Regions from separate parts of the Homo sapiens genome. Here all the other regions are linked to region 3. The links are contacts of gene promoters, found by promoter capture Hi-C in blood cells and fetal thymus (Javierre and others, 2016). All regions are on one chromosome and are shown on one strand. Each heading gives the region's core, a stretch centred on a gene start or on the middle of the fragment in contact. The rest is flanking DNA. Distances are from core to core; before and after follow the strand shown. Region 1 overlaps LOC105373883 (a long non-coding RNA gene). Region 2 overlaps DNPEP-AS1 (DNPEP antisense RNA 1). Region 3 holds the start of IHH (Indian hedgehog signaling molecule).

Region 1 (2,757 bases), core at 67-2,566, 300 kb before region 3:
CAAGCAGCCATATGGAGAGGCTGATGTGGTAGGGAACTGAGACCTCCTGCCAACAGCCAGCATCGTCTTGCCAGGAGGGTGAGTCATCTTGAAAGTGGATCCTCTAGCCCCACGCAAGCCTTCAGAAGACTACAGCCAACCCTGAGTAACATCTTCACTGCAACTTCAAGAGAGACCCTGAACCAAAAATACCCAGCTAAGCCTCTCTCAGATTCCCAGTCCACAGAAACTGTGAAATAGATGTTTATAGTTTAAGCGACTAAGCTTTGGGGTAATTTGTCATGTAGCAATAAGCCATAGATATTCTTTGCTAAAACTGGATTTTTAAAAAAAGTAATAGACAATGAATACAAGTACACTACATGTACACATATACACATTGACACACACATCCCATCTACATACACAAATACATCTCCCACACATACAAACCTACATACGCACACACAAACACACATGCATACAGTACACATTGATTCATACAAACACATGCACACACATATAAACACATGGACACAACACCCATGCACAAACATATAAACACATGTATACACATATAAACACATGTACGCATGCGCAAGTCCCGAGAACCCACTTCTAGAGTCTTTGGGCTCTTCACCATCTAGATGCCCACCTGGGGCTCCCCATAGAGCTCTGACCCATCTCGGAGGAGCTGCCTCTTCTCTCTCTTTTTTTTTTTTTTTTTGAGATGGAGTTTTGCTCTGTCACCCAGGCTGGAATGCAGTGGCACAATCTCTGCTCACTGCAACCTCTGCCTCCCGGGTTCAAGCAATTCTTCTGCCTCAGCCTCCAGAGTAGCTGGGACTACAGGCACATGCCACCATGGCCAGCTAATTTTTGTACTTTTAGTAGAGACGGGGTTTCACCATGTTGGCCAGGCTGGTCTTGAACTCCTGACCTTGTGATCTACCCGCCTCGGCCTCCCAAAGTGCTGGGATTACAGGCGTGAGCCACCGTGCCTGGCCTGAGGAGCTGCCTCTTCTCTAGGAGATTCCCACCAGAGGTGATCCTGTCCTTGAGGGAAGACCTTGTTTCCCGACAAAGGGTGGTGGCCTGAGTCTTGCAGGCCTCAGTGCAATGATAGCACCATCCCCACTGGCTATCCAAGAAGAGGCACAGGCATGGTGGCCCACCCTCTCCCTATCAAGGTGGGCAGCCTTTGTTCCCTGGGGTCAGGTGGGCTGTCTCACACCTTCCCCCTGGTGAGCTGTAAGGCAGGTCTCCTGGATTCTGCTCCTGATTCTCTACCAGACCAGGCCTCTCTGCCCTTCTGGGTTTCAAGGTCTTTCACCTTGAAACCTTGGGGCATAGCCGAAATCTACAAACCCAGAGAGGCTGAAGCTGAAAGGAACTAGAATTCAACTCACAATGCATTTGTGCAACACGAGGCTGCTTTATATCCATCATCTCATTTCATTTTCACAGTCACCCTGATGAGCTGCCCATCTAACAGATAAGAGCACTGAGGCAGAGGTGTTTCATCTGGGGCCTCAGGACCCAAAATCTGTTTCATTTTGGAGCATCCAGGCTGAGCTAGGTCCTGAGCCAGACACTGAGGATGTGATAGCAAATCAAACAGACATGTCTTCTGTCCTCTTGAAATTTACACTCCAGTGGGGAGACGCAAATAAACAAGTAAACAAAGGAAGAAGTCCATCGGCCGCGGTGGCTCATATCTGTAATCCTAGAACTTTGGGAGGCCAAGGCAGGTAGATCACCTGAGGTCAAGAGTTCAAGACCAGCCTGGCCAACATGGTGAAACCTCATCTCTAATAAAAATACAAAAATTAGCTGGGTGTGGTGGCAGGCGCCTACAATCCCAGCTACTTGGGAGGCTGAGGCAAGAGAATTGCTTGAACCCAAGAGGCAGAGGTTGCAGTGAGCCAAGATCGTCATTGCGCTCCAACCTGGGCAACAGAGCAAAAACTCCATCTCAAAACAAACAAAACAAACAAACAACAACAACAACAACAACAAAAAACGAAGAAGTCATGGACAGTGGTAAGAGTCATGAAGGTAATGAAGTGACAATTATTCCTAGGGACCAGAAACTACTTGGTGGGGAGGGTTATACTAGAACAAAGAGATAACAATGGAGGGTGGGGAGAAGCAGAAATGGCCTTTGAGAAGGACTCAGGTGTTCAAAGAATGGAAAGGAGGCTGGGAACAGAGAGAGCAAGATGAGAGAAGGAAATGAGGCTGGAGAGGAAGGCAAGGCTAGATCACGTTGGGGCTCATAGGCCATGGTCGGGAATTTAGCGTTTATTCAAAAGTGTAAATGAGGTGATCCATTGGATGGTGTTAAGCAAGGGAATAACATGCTTTAATTTATATTTTGGAAAGCTTCTCCTGGTGCTTAAGAGATTACAGGGAGGCAAGAGTGGAACAACAAATATTCAACAAGAACGACTGAGCACCTACAGTACACCAGACACAATCCCAGACTCCTAGAACACACCCCAAGTCATTAGTTACTCCAGGCAACTAGATGAGATTCAATTTCTGTAACAGGTGAAAGACGATGGCCAGCTGGGCATGGTGGCTCACGCCTGTAATCCCAGCACTTTGTAAGACTGAGGCAGGAGGTTCACTTGACCCTGGAAGTTTGAAACCAGCCTAGGCAACATAAGATCTTGTCTCTATTAAACATTTACAAAAATAAAAATAAAAGAAAGATGATGGTGGTTTGAACAAGGGCAATGGCATTGGGTCTGGGAAAAATGTAAACTGTAAGAG
Region 2 (2,700 bases), core at 201-2,700, 340 kb before region 3:
GAATCCCTGATCTCTCCTTCCCCACCATTGCCCTTTACCCAGAGCCCAGAGCTGGCAGTCAGGGAGGAGAGATGTGTTTTTAACCCACCTTGCAATGGATGGCCTGGCCAAGGCTGTTACTTACCATGACTTAGCAGCCACATGCAGCTTAATGCCATCTCTGGCTCACTCCCCCTTGCCAAGGACTGAAATGAAGGAGGCTCACTCTAGAGCACTGCCAGGGGTGTGCAGGGGGTGGGTGGTGGGGGGGTGTCTGCAAGTGCCCAGGGTCTATCTTTCTGGAAGATGGCAGGAGGGAGAGGAAGACCTGGTGAACATCTATTACTGATTGTCCCTGGGACCCTGGTGGCCTCCCGGAACTGCCGCCTCCCTCCTTCCCTTCATGATCAAACTTTTCAACTGTCCTCCCCACACCCATCTTCAGTTTCCCCTTGCAGGTTCCTCATTGTCCCATTTCCTCAGAATTCTTGCAGCTGCAGTCACACAGGCTATTGGTGCCCTGCTGGGTCCTCTACTCCTAGACCAGTGCTGTCTCACAGAAATACAATGGAAGCCATGTATGTCATTTTGAATGTTCTAGTAGCTGCAATTTTAAAACGTAATAAAAACAGGTCGGGCGCAGTGGCTCACGCCTGTAATCCCAGCGCTTTGGGAGGCCGAGGCGGGTGGATCACTTGAGGTCAGGAGTTCGAGACCAGCCTGGCCAACATGGAGAAACCTCATCTCTACTAGAAATGCAAAAATTAGCCAAGCGTGGTGGCAGGCACCTATAATCCCAGCTACTCAGGAGGCTGAGGCAGGGGAATTGCTTGAACCCAGGAGGGGAAGATTGCAGTGAGCCAAGATGGTGCCACTGCACTCCAGCCTGGGTGACAGAGCGAGACTTTGTATCAAAAAAAAAAAAGTAATAAAAACAGGTGAAATTAATGTTACTAATATAGCAATGATAGTATATTTAACAATGTATCCAAAATGCTATCATTTTAACCTGTAAGCAATATCTTAAAATGGAGATATTTCATACATTTTGTACATAATCCAGTGGCACATTGTTTTATAGGTATAGCATTTCTCAATGTGAGAGGTACTTGAAGGTGTAGCCACATGTCAAGGGCTCAATAGCCCTGCATAGCTGGTGGCTGCTGTACTAGCCAGCACAGTTCTAGAGCCTTCATTCTCTACTTGGCATCCACGATTTTGCCGAGTCCAGTAATTATCCCATTCCCATGTGGCCTGTCTCCCTTGGGAGATTCGAAACCCCTCCTCCCCCAGGGGCAGAGTCCTCATTTTGCTCATCCCTCTGACTCCCAGGGCACCATCAAACTGTGCCCCACACCCAGGAGGCCCTCAAAGCATGTTTGTTGATGGGAGTGAGCGTTCGGGATTGATTTTTGTGGTTCAGTTATGGCTGTAAATGGTGTTTTATAGATTGCTTCTATAGAAGCACCCTGCTGCAATATTAGCAGAAACAAGCAGCAGTGGTTGTCAGCACAGGCAGAGGCCTCGGGGCAGATGGGGCTCCCTGAATCAGGCGGGGGAAATCCTGCTAGATGAGATACCATTGCTCTGGTTTAAGAGCCTGTCATTGCCACAGCGTGCTCCTCCAAGCAACCCCATCTCTGTTAGAGCTCAGAGATAGCCCCTGTCAGAGTGCATGACACAAAGGATGTGTCTCCAGCAACCCGCCACCAGGCTGGCAGCTTTCTCAGGGCAGAAATGGGAGTTATTCAGGTGGACAAGAGCCTGGCCCACAACAGATGCACCAGGCATGCATTTCGAATGAATAAATGAATGGATGACCAGAGTGAGTGAAGCCTCTCGTTCATGTCTTCATGCCCCAGAAAGTCTTTATCGAGCACTTACTATATCAGACACTGTGCTTGGTACTGGGACACAGCAGGGAACAAGGAAACAGGGAGGGTCGTGTCCTCCTGGAGCTCACATTCTGATGGGAGAGACAGATAATAAAAAAGTAAACACGGATAAGTGAAATAATTAGAGCACTGGCTGGCAGGAAGCAAACAAAGGGGCCAAAATAGAGAATGAGGGAGGAGTTCTTCAAGGAAAGAAGAAAGTCTCTATTCTTAGCCTCCCAGAATACAAGACACCCCTCCCCCAGGTCAGGTGTCAACATTTAGACGTTGGCCACCATACGTCAGCCTGTGGCTTGGGGTGCCCTGAGGATGTTACTGCTTCAAATTGCACTGGTGATGTCATAATGGGCTCTAGGGATGTCGGAGAGCCCTGCAAGTTGGGGCCCAAGGCAGGGGAAGGATCCGGCAAAAAAGGCACACGGTTCAGGCCTGTCCACTCCAGCCTTGGGAGGAGGTGAGCAGGTCACCATGGCTCGGAGCCTCTCCATCATGTTCGTCCCCAACAGCTGGCTCAATGGCTACCACAAGGTAACCGGGGCCTGTCTAGTTCTGTGGCCAGCCAGTGCAGACACGTTCCTAGGCACCAGCCTTCCATGAGCCACGCACTGGCTTAGGCATTATGGGGATAAAGAGATGAATGAAATAGGGTCCCCTGCTCTCAGTCTGCTAACAAACCAGACCTCGAGCAAGTGGCTTAACAGAATAATACTCATCATCATCTTGGCTAACTTTGGAGGATTTAATCTTTCCAAACAACCCTGTCTGGTGCCCTATTCTCTCCACGTTGCCCAACAACTGAGTTCAAGGGCAGCCCACCCATCGGCAC
Region 3 (3,010 bases), core at 192-2,691:
AACCGATCCAGAGAGTGTGAGTAAATCTGTGAACAGCTACTTCAGCCCCGAACCCAGTGGTGTTGAGTGGACTGGTCCTGCACAGAGGGACAATGCACCTGCATGGGCAAAAACTGGGGCTGGGCCAGAGTCATGGGCTTCAATCCCTGCTTTTCAGCCACTAGCAAGTTGTTCATCTTCTCTGAACTTCAATATCTTCATTCGTAAAATGTGGACAGTAATAGCTCCTTTGGCCGTTTCGAGTTTAAATTAGATAATGCAAGTAGAAGACATAGTACAATAATATCTAATAACTACCATGTTCAGGAATATAAGTACCAATAAAATGGTACCTATTGTATTAATAGCATTTGAGTGAGAATTTTTAAGTCTTTTTATTTCTCATCTTTTCATTTCTACCTTTATTGGATTTGTAGAATCTATTACAGTCAAATCATATAGTTTGGTGTTGTGGTGGTGATGTTTTTTGTTTGCTTTTTAACACACTTGCCTTTACTTGTTTTGGCAGAAGGGATCCTAATTCATTCAGCTTTCTCGAATGTCATATAAAAACACATAACACATGTTCACGTTCCTAGTTGTTTCTACATATTCTCTGCTCTTTTAGATGTGTAATATAGAACCAAGTAATTATTTAGCAGTTCCGGTGGCTTTGCATCATTTTGGCATTCATACCAAGCCCCCGTTACTGAGATCTTTGCTGCCCCTCTTTAACATGGTCAGTCGGGGTTCCTCGGTATTCTGTTGACGTCACCATTTTAGCTACCCTTCTCTGCATATTGACCTATCCCTTTGCAACTTCATATTGTCACTTTCAACAGTGTTTCCAACTTAAAACCCCCTATTTGACTCTTCAAAAGGCTAGACTCCCCATCCCCAGTTTGACACCGACAGGCAGGCTGTGGGATGTGCACCAGGTTGATACAGAACCCAGCTCCACCAAGCTGAAAGGGCGCGTCGCCCGGGCCAGGGTGGGGCACCAGGTTATGAGTGGCCTCCTGCCTTTTGGGTTTGCTTCCCCGCAGGGGACACCGTAGGCGGCTGTGCGGTCCGGCCACTGCCCCCCGCCCCTCGCGTCCGGCCGCGCCGTGGGTTGCGGTCTCCGTGGGGGTGGCAGCTCCTGTCCGGGAGGTTTGCGCCTGGCGGGGCACCCCAGAGCCGCGAAGAGCCGGTAGGCGAGGCCAGGGCGGGGTGGGGCGCGTCCAGGCGGGGAGGGCAAACTCGGGCAGCGCAGGGGGCGCAGAGGGCAGCGGGCGGGCGGACGCGCGGCGGAGGCGCGAGCGGGACGAGGGCTGGCTAGTGCCGGGGCCGCCCGCCCGAGGGGGAGGAGGCTGTGCTGCCCTTGCTGCAGGTTCGCTGTCGAGCGCACAGGAGGCAGGGACATGGGTAGGGTGCGGTCTGCGCGGGGCCCGAGCCCGGATCTCTTCCATTTCCCCTCTCACTCGGCCCCGGGCTGCGCCGCAGACGGCAGCAGCTCCCGCTCCGCCCGAGCCGCCTGACCGCCGGGCCGGGGTGCTAACCGCGGGGCCCTGCAGCCCGCCGGCCCGGCCAGCCCAGCCCAGCCCGGCGGCCCGCAGCCCCGCCGCCCGCCGCCCCCCGCCGCCGCCGCGTTGCCAAAACAAACGGGCCGGCCTATTTATTGGCGGCCGGCGAGCCCGGCAGCTCAGAGTCGAGGCGCCGAGGGGGACAGCGCGCCGCCACCAGCTCGGGCCCTGGGCCCCCGCCCCGCACTTGAGTCCCGCCGGCCCTGGCCGCACCACGCCGCCCATGGCGCCCCCGCCTGGAGCCCCCCGGAGCCACCCGGACGCCTGAGCCCCCGCAGCGCTCCCGTCGACGCGCCTGCCCATCAGCCCACCAGGAGACCTCGCCCGCCGCTCCCCCGGGCTCCCCGGCCATGTCTCCCGCCCGGCTCCGGCCCCGACTGCACTTCTGCCTGGTCCTGTTGCTGCTGCTGGTGGTGCCGGCGGCATGGGGCTGCGGGCCGGGTCGGGTGGTGGGCAGCCGCCGGCGACCGCCACGCAAACTCGTGCCGCTCGCCTACAAGCAGTTCAGCCCCAATGTGCCCGAGAAGACCCTGGGCGCCAGCGGACGCTATGAAGGCAAGATCGCTCGCAGCTCCGAGCGCTTCAAGGAGCTCACCCCCAATTACAATCCAGACATCATCTTCAAGGACGAGGAGAACACAGGCGCCGACCGCCTCATGACCCAGGTGAGCGCGATCCGCCCTACCAGCGCGCCGCCACCGAAGCACGGCCACCTGCCCGGCCCTACCCACCCCCTGGCACATTTTCTCGACTGGCTGGCACGCTCCCTGGCACCTGCCCCTCTCGCCAAGCCCCGCTGCCTCCTGCCCAAGATGGGCTGGCCAGGGGTCCAGGCAGGAGTGTCGGCATCCCCAAGCCCGGAGGAGACTGCTAGAAGAGCTCCCCGCTGCCAAGCCCCACAGCCCAGCAGGTTGGCGGCGGCTCCTCTGCCCCAAAGTACTGGCAGCTCAGCCAGACGCTGCACCCGGAGGTACCTCTACCCGGCTGCCTCCTGCGCCTCCAGGACCCACGCAGTCCCTCCCGGCCTAACCTTCTGCACAGCTGTGCCCCTTTCATTTTGAAACTTTTCGGCACCCCTGAGGCAAAGAATCTCTGGGTGCGTAGGGTCACCACGGCCTTTCCTCCCTGTGCGCTCTTGGTTCTACGGGCTGCCCCTTCCAGGAGCAGCGTCCCGGCTGGGTCTGGGGTTAAGAACAGCGAGGAAGAGTTGAATCGGGAGGCGGAGGTGGGAAAAGGAACCTGCCCAGCGAGCCCACGTGTCTGTCCGGAGAGCTGAGGGGTGCTACTGCGGTGGAAGGGTGGGTTATTGGGGCCTTCGGGCTCTGGGACTGAGCTTAGGGGATTCCTGGGCTTGGTGGTGGGGACGGGAAGGAGTGGAAAAGAGGGGCTGAGATGCCGAGGGAGGCAGGGACCAGGGCTGACGCTAGTCTCTGCATGCTGGAGTAGGACCCGCGCTCCACCCAAGC

What was found. Contacts are between HindIII fragments. The CHiCAGO score rates a contact against its expected background, and 5 or more counts as called.
Region 1: a fragment that was not itself captured here is called in contact with the fragment with the promoter of IHH in region 3 in 8 of 17 cell types (erythroblasts, naive CD4 T cells, naive B cells and 5 more); the score reaches 9.1 in erythroblasts.
Region 2: a contact is called between a fragment that was not itself captured here and the fragment with the promoter of IHH in region 3, in 1 of 17 cell types (total CD8 T cells). The highest score is 5.4, in total CD8 T cells.

The regions. Positions count from the first base shown.
Region 1 is chr2:219,360,008-219,362,764 of GRCh38, reverse strand. It overlaps LOC105373883 (a long non-coding RNA gene), which reads left to right. Exons shown (of 2, transcript XR_923917.3): 2 at 1-263. Among named protein-coding and RNA genes, the nearest start is that of DNPEP, 27 kb to the left of the region's middle. RefSeq lists an enhancer at 153-202. The HindIII fragment of the contact is 2,100 bases long and covers 267-2,366 here.
Region 2 is chr2:219,399,568-219,402,267 of GRCh38, reverse strand. DNPEP-AS1 (DNPEP antisense RNA 1) reads right to left here. Exons shown (of 4, transcript NR_183823.1): 3 at 1,864-1,945. It also overlaps a transcript of DNPEP not described here. Among named protein-coding and RNA genes, the nearest start is that of DNPEP-AS1, 12 kb to the right of the region's middle. The HindIII fragment of the contact is 3,586 bases long and covers 1-2,700 here.
Region 3 is chr2:219,059,352-219,062,361 of GRCh38, reverse strand. IHH (Indian hedgehog signaling molecule) reads left to right here and starts at 1,441. Exons shown (of 3, transcript NM_002181.4): 1 at 1,441-2,209. The coding sequence starts at 1,895. It overlaps LOC124906120 (a long non-coding RNA gene), which reads right to left and starts at 669. Exons shown (of 3, transcript XR_007088092.1): 1 at 1-669. The HindIII fragment of the contact is 5,239 bases long and covers 1-3,010 here.